Regions from separate parts of the Homo sapiens genome. Here region 1 is linked to region 2. The links are contacts of gene promoters, found by promoter capture Hi-C in blood cells and fetal thymus (Javierre and others, 2016). All regions are on one chromosome and are shown on one strand. The core of a region is centred on a gene start or on the middle of the fragment in contact, and the rest is flanking DNA. Distances in the headings are between cores, read along the strand shown.

Region 1 (3,615 bases), core at 864-3,363, 550 kb after region 2:
CACTGGCTAATCTGTAACCACAGGTCAGCCTGCAGCCGCCTGGCTTGCTAGCAGGTATCTGCTGGCCCCTGTTTGGGAGGCGCTGCCAGCCCTTTACTGTCTCCACAAACATCCTCCTGCTGGTCCGCATCTGGCACGGGGCATGGGAGGGAGCCGGGAAGTGCGGGTGCCTGGCTTAGACAGGCAAGGGGGTTCTCCACCCCTCCCAGCACCCACCTCCACCCTCTCCCTTTAAACCCAACCATGGGAAATTTAGGAGAAACAAACATGCTTTCTGGGGCTCACAGAGGGAAGGGCAGAACATCCTAAAATCACTCACAGTCACAGACTTTAAGATTCAGAGAATCTTCAAGCCACGGGATCTCATAGATTTATAGAATCATCTGGTCTAGTGGGTCTCAAACTTTTTTAAAAAGCAGTGGAATCCTTTTGTCCAACAGAACCCCAAGTTCTGGCTGAAGTCTAGGAGGTGGACCTAGCACCTATCCCCTCACCCTCTCTCTGGCCTTCTCTGCAGCCTCCAAGACACCTCTGTGGAACCCCAGTGTTCCAAGGAACCCAGCTGGAGAAGCACAGATCTTGTTCCAAGGAGCAATTTCGATTGCATGGTTTTCCTTTCAGCCCGATACAGAGACCTGGGTTCAAGGCTCCCTCTTCTAGTTGAAGAGCTGGTTTGAGGGGTTGGCTTTTTTGGCCGTGGAGGGCGGTGTCTTTAAATTAGGTATTCCTTTTTAACCTAAAGACAAAAGCCCTTCTCATTTGTGTAAATGCCTTTCCACATCTGTGAGGTAAGTGGGGTGTGTATAATTATGCCCAAATAATGAGGAGGCTGAAGCACAGAGAAGCTGAGAACTGCCCAGAGCTAATGAGTGGCCAAGTCAAGCCTTGATTCAGTGGGTCTCCTGCATCTTAAATGAAGGCATTGTCCCCAATACTGCAAGGCCCGAGCTCCTCCCTCCACATACACCCCACCCTGAGCCCCACCACTCTCTCCAAGGCCCCAGTACAATCTCTTGGGCCCAAGAGATGCTAGGGGCAAACATGAGATTGCCTTTCTTGTAAGTTAAAAACAGTCCAATACTGGTGATTACATATGGTTCAACTTGATATATATTCATTGTGGTAGAAAACTAGAGTGCACAGGAATAACTGAACCAGACAAAGCCCTCGGGAGCCTCCGGGGAACTATAAGGCAGGCAGACCGACCTTCCCCACTGAATCTGGCATCCTGGGCGCTGCACTGCCCCTCTTCCTTGTACCAGCACTGCTGGGGCCCTGGTGGCCTATCTGTGCCCAACATGTGCAGTTGATCCTTGATGCCTTGAGCTCTTGTAAGCTCGACTCTGGAAGGCACAGGAGGGCCACTGTCCCCGCTCTTGTCGGGTATCCAGACCTAATAGGGAGATCAGATGGACTCACATCTAGAGAAGCTGGAAGGTAATGTAGCCCAAGCTCCTGGGTTCAAATCCCAGCTCCACCAACTGCCAGCTGTGTGACCTTGGGCAGGTTATCAGACCTCTCTCAGCCTCTGTTCCTTATCTACAAAATGGGCACAATAATACCTTCCTTTATATACAAAGAGGATATATGCTGGATCTTTAAAGAGCAGGACAATACATGACTCAAAGCTGCTTATACCACTTAGGTCTCCAAGTGCTTCCGATGGTCAGGAGGAGGAAGGGTCATTTTGAATGAGGGAGGTCTGGGAAAGCTTCCTAATGGAGGGGAGGGTTTGGTGTGGGGCACTGATATAGCTGGCAGAATTTGGGGTAAGCAGAAAGGAAGCACCAGAAAACCCTCTGAAGCAGAAGGAAAAGCAAGATTTTTTTCTTAATCAAAAAGAAATGAAAATCATCAAAGAGGAAGAAATCATGATCGGCAGCCTCAGCTGTTTCCCCCAGCCCAACAGCTGGCTCAGGCTCCTTAAACTAATATTTGCCTCTTGGCCCCTAGCAGCCACAGCTGAGGGTAAATATTGGTTTAGCCTGGGAAGCAGAAGGCCCAGATGGCAGTGTGGTCCTCGGCTGGGGATCACTCATGCTCAGCACCTCCAAGCTGAGGCACACCCTGGATAGGGGACCTGACCTAGGCCCCTATCTCCAGGGGGCCTGGAGAACCCACCCAGCAGCACATGACCCTTGGAAGCCCATCCTGAGAGTCTCCATACAGCTCTCTCCTCAGTAGGCAGGCGTGGGTCTTTTACCAAGACCTGGGAACCTGTGCATGGCAAGGGATGGAATAGAATGCATAAGCCCTCGGGAGCCCCCACCTCATCCCCTCCTAGAACCCTCCCGGACCCAGCCCCACCATTTAGATGTGTTGATAGCCTCCTCCCTCTGACCTTACTCCCAGATCAGCCTGAGAGATCTGGGTTCCAGGCCTGGCCTGGCTGATGAGCAGCTGGGAGAGTTTGGGCAGGCCTCTCCCCATCTCTGGGTCTCATACTTCTCCACTGTCAACCAGCCAGTCCCTCTTACTGAACAACTTGACAGCACAAAAGCTGCTGGAAGCTTTCAGCTCTCATGGCTCTCTCCCCTGTGATGCATACACATACCCACACCTGTGCACACCCCTCACCTCCACAAGTCACCCACTACCTTTCTACCTCATTCCTTCCCCTCCTGGATCTGCTCCCCTACTGACCGCCAATTCCCCACCTCTGCACCTGTGGACACCCCCCTGTCTGACCTAAATTGTTCCTCAACCAATCCATTCTTTTCACCTCACTTAGTTCCTGACTTAAAACTTGTCTCCTACAGGAAGTCCTCCTGGATTGCTCTCTAGCTGCACTCCCCTCCCACACATACACACAGTTTTACTCTTCAGGTCACACTTGATTGCAGAATTGAACTTGGGCCACCTTGCATCAGTTATATGATGTGTCCCCCAGGGAAAACATTATTCCAGGAGAGGGGCTGGGTTTTTGATTCTTCTGTCTCCCACCTGCCCCCGCTTAGTGCCTAGGCAGTGGTAGGCACCAAGGGATGCTCTGGAGCACCCTGTAAGTGGGCTCTTGGCCCGCCAGCCAAGTCCTGCTGGGACTCACAGCTGCTCTTCCTGAATTGACATTTCTGAGAGGAGCAAGGAGACCTTGAGATACTGGGATAGGAGCTTCTTTTTCCATGTATTAATCACCCCATAAAACCTGTGTTTATTTAGTTGCTGGCGGGTCCTTCTCCCTGGAGGAAGGAAGCTGTTATTCTTGACGATACCAGCCTGGGCTTGGGCCAGGGCGCCCCAAAGAAAGAGGTGATCTGCAGAACTCCAGCATAACAGGGAGGAGGGCCTGCTGGGGCTGTGGCATGGGCACCATAACAGGGAGGAGGGCCTGCTGGGGCCATGGCATGGGCACCATTGTGGGCTTGGATTCTGGCCAGGGCAGGGAGGACCGTCCACTGGGGAGAGACACCAGCCCCTGCCTCCACTCTGTCTGGGGACACAACCCATCCATGGCCTGACCTGCTTACCTACTATGTGCCAGCTACCCTGGGAAGCCTCTGGTCTAAGGAACAAACACAGAGCAGGTAAGATTGGGAGGGCTTTGACCACAGGCTTCAGACAAAGGGGGCAGGGGCAGGCCTGGCAGAAAATCCCCAAAGATCAGACATTGGTTTG
Region 2 (3,846 bases), core at 1,038-3,537:
TAGTTTTACTAATTCACTGTCAGCTTTCACTTCTGTTCCCATTGTACTTGCATCTAACATTTAATACTTCTAATATTGCTGTGGGCTAGAAACTAGAGAGAAAAGTTTAACTGCATATTAAATCAGAGCTGAGATTCTTAAAAAGTTTTACCTGGTGTTTAAGGGCCTTTTCTACTCTAAATCTGGAGTTGAATTAAAGCTGTTGGAAGCCAGGTTTCTGAATATTTGGCTTATTGCTTATTATGGTAAAAAAAAAAATTCTATTTTTGAAATTACTTTCCTGTAATTTATGTAAAAATAAAAATTATGCAATGGTCCTGAAATTCTTCTCACCTTTGATCTATACATTTTGACTAGTTTTAGCCTCCGAAGAAGGTCTTCTTTCTCCTGAACCTGCTTCACCAATTTGGCTTTTTCAGCGTTTAATCTTTGTTTAGGAAGCTTCTCACTCACAAACTCATTTTGGAGAGCACTGCATGATCCAGAATCAAGTGACTGAGATTCACAGACATTGAGATTCTTCAAAGTATTTTTCAAATTTGTATTTTCTTCAAATTCACTGTCTATATGTTTAAAACTTTCTTGAAATTCCAAACAGTTTTCCTCTGTGGAAGATGCTGGTTTCTCTGAAAAGGTCTGATCATTTTCTTCACTCTCTACTTTAAGACGTTTCACCACATTGTAAGAGGAATTAAATGAAAATCTTGTTTTCCTTAATCTTTCTCTAAGTGTTGCACTCATAGGCTATAAAGAGCACAAAACATTAAAAATGTGAATCAAGAAAAACATTCTTAATGTCAATAAATCACCAGAAATAAAGTCCTTCCATTTCTATGCTAGACACCACTAGATGGCTTTCTGTCTCCACATCTAAAGAAGGCATCACAAAATGACTTTAATTTCTGGAAGCTCCATTTGTTTTATTTCCTTTTTACTTCAGCAAGATCAACACCTTTCCAAAAGTGTTGAGAAGTTTATCCCAGTAATCAAGGAACATTTGTTCAGTAACAAGCACATGCCTGATAGTACTCCAGGTGCTTCAGAATTACAGAGTAAGGAAAAGACCTAGACTCTGCCACTAAAGACCTTCATAATAATATTGCACAGATGCAAACTTTCTCCATCTGGAGTATTGTAATAACCTAATCTGAAACTAACTGAAATGAATTCATTCAAGAGGAAAATATGGAAGGGGGCTGGTGGGTGTCATATATGTCACCTTAGAAGAAAAACAAAATTATTTAATAAAATGTCTACTTATTTATGCTACACATTATGTTAATTAACAACCTTCCGTAGAATTTAAACCACCACTGCCACAATACTTAGAAACACATAATGGATCCACTGGAAGAACAAAGATTTTCATACTTGTTTTCGGGAACTATTTGTATAGGGAGATGATGGATTCGCAGAGGCCTGAGGAGTGCTAGGTAAAACCACAGCTGAGTCTGACGGACTTTCCATCTTGAAAGTGAAATCTTGGTTTTTCTCTAAAAAAGAAAAATTATAAAATAATCGAATTAACCACACCTCTCTATAGTCGACTTTTATCAAATAATATATTGTATTGGTGTACAAAGCATCCACAAGTAAGCCAGATATTTCTTCTAATTTCACTTTGTAATTCATTCTTGCTCTTTTTGCAGTTTTCCATTTACCTTCCCACATAGGGACCACTAAGTTTTTCATGATACATCAACCAGCTAGTATCTCATAGTCACAAGACTCTCCTTGTTTTCGTTTCATCCACCAAAATATATTCAAATTCTGCCTTGGAAGTAGGGAAGAATAACAGCTTTAGATAATCAGGAATTCTTTATTATGACAGCTTCATAATTCAAGAAGCTATAGCCGAAACCTTGACTCAAAAACAATAGGACCTGAATGTCACCCATCCTGAACTCTACAAGCTGTGACTAGAACCCGTTACCCTGCCGGCCCGAGGCATAAGAAACACAGCGGAGACGCATTTAAGCCCGTCTGTAGCCTTTTAGTTTAAGCGGCCAACAGGGACTGAAAAGGAGAGTGGACTGAAATTGCTTCCTCCGACAAAGGCATTAACTTTTGAGGGGTAAACTAGGGGCGGGAGTCGTCCCCTCCTTCCCCCCGTTGCAGAAAGCCCACTAGTTCCCCGGAGACCCCAGGCATAAGGTGAGGTTGAGTTCCCCAGACCCGGAAAGGGAGCTCAACTCGACTCCACAGCCGACTCCCGGGGAAGCCCAGGTGTCAGGGATCCCCCCTTCCCCTCAGCAGGGTACCTCCCTCCGCCATTCCCAGCGAGAGCAAAAAAGCGCGCGCACCTGCGGCCGTAAATCGATCCTGTGGCAGGGGCGGGGCCGTGCGGTAGGCGGAAAAGATGCGCAATTGGCCAGATTGCCTGACGCGCGAGGCGCCGCTTCACTCAGCGACTCAGAGCGGTGGGACTGCGCGCGCGCCTCCGCCAGCGGGTGGTTGGGGCGGGGCTTGGCCCACACGATGGGAGGCCCAGACGCATGATTGGCAGAATTAACCGGTGCGCGCGGCTCTCCCCGCCCAGCGCCCGAGAGCAGCGTGAGTGCGCGCGCGCGCGGCCGCGATCCGCAGCAGGTCTTCGGGGCGGGCGAGGCTGAGCTTCGGAATGTTAAACCAATCCTGAGGGGGGCGCGCTTCCGTTCGCGGCTTCTGTTGCCTTATTTTCAACCGCCTTCCCTTCAGGCTTCCTTGTTTTTGTGCGTCTGTGAAGTGCGCCTGAAAGTGCCTCTCCCCACCCCCGCCAGCCCGCCGCCTCCATTCTCTGGCTCCAGTCAGTCTCCTCTCCCTGCTAGTCACAGTGAAGGCTTTACTCAGACGTGGGGCGGCCAGAAGCCGCACGGCTGGCTGCATGTTAGATTTACAGCTTGTGGACTCCCCAGAGGCAGAGACCACAAAAGAACAGCGTTGGTTGGGTTCCAGCCTATTCCAGCGTGGTGGTTCCAGAGACCACAAAAGAACAGCGTTGGGTTCCAGCGTTGGGGTCCACATTTCAAACATGTTAGAAATCTATCCGAGAGTCCCGGCACTTTAGCTGAGCTCATCGCTAGCTTTTTTGGCTGCCGCAAACTCGGCGGTCCCGTCGCGAGGTTTTTTGTTGTTGTTGTAAACAAAAAACCGTTTCTGTACCTCAGTATGCAGGCTCCTTAGCGTGACCTCAAATCTTTTACTCAAATCTGAGGGAAAATGTAGCCCAAGGAAATTTGTTGTGGCGCAACACAGGAAGCAGAACAATCACTACATGAGATTGTGTCGGTCCAAAATTCACGTTTGAGACCGACAGGGCCCTTGCTGGCTACCGGGCAGCAGCATCCTCAGTCGAGAAAATCCCCCCCCCGCGCCCCGCTTCCAGTATGGCGAGGTTCTGTTGCTACGCGACGACAAAGTTAGCTACATTGGGTGGAGCACTGGGTTTAGTGAAAGAGTTGAGTAACTTCTGAGTCACGTGGAAGTTGGGAATTTCCAGGGGCCAGTGTTTTCAGTCCTCTTATTGAATGGCCATTTTAAACATTGATATCGTCTCTTTACTATTAATAACATCTGACAGTAGTGGCTTAGAAGTGGCCAAAAGGGAGTTACCTGAGTCTTAAGCAGTCAGGTATAATAATTACAGAACCTGAGGACTACCTAAGGGAATGATTAGGGGCGTACACGTTACAGTCAAATTGTCTAGGTTCAAATCCTGGCACCATACTTTATGTGCTTCTTAATGAGGTGATTCTGTGCCTCAGTTTCTTCACCTCTTAATATGGGATTGGAGAATTAAATGAGAACTGGTGAGAGGCAGCTGGAACAGAGCTAGGTATCTAGGAAGCACTCAGTAGTTATTTTATA

Evidence for each region. Contacts are between HindIII fragments. The CHiCAGO score rates a contact against its expected background, and 5 or more counts as called.
Region 1: a contact is called between a fragment that was not itself captured here and the fragment with the promoter of SFR1 in region 2, in 5 of 17 cell types (total B cells, naive CD4 T cells, naive CD8 T cells and 2 more). The highest score is 6.7, in total B cells.

Annotation. Positions count from the first base shown.
Region 1 is chr10:103,575,380-103,578,994 of GRCh38, reverse strand. The region is part of intron 3 of NEURL1 (neuralized E3 ubiquitin protein ligase 1); the gene reads right to left. Among named protein-coding and RNA genes, the nearest start is that of NEURL1-AS1, 60 kb to the right of the region's middle. The HindIII fragment of the contact is 799 bases long and covers 1,714-2,512 here.
Region 2 is chr10:104,120,612-104,124,457 of GRCh38, reverse strand. SFR1 (SWI5 dependent homologous recombination repair protein 1) reads right to left here and starts at 2,287. Exons shown (of 4, transcript NM_001002759.2): 1 at 2,262-2,287; 2 at 1,372-1,493; 3 at 334-744. The coding sequence starts at 2,274. RefSeq lists a silencer at 2,292-2,521 and enhancers at 2,762-2,811, 2,206-2,869, 3,442-3,541, 3,025-3,846. The HindIII fragment of the contact is 3,915 bases long and covers 444-3,846 here.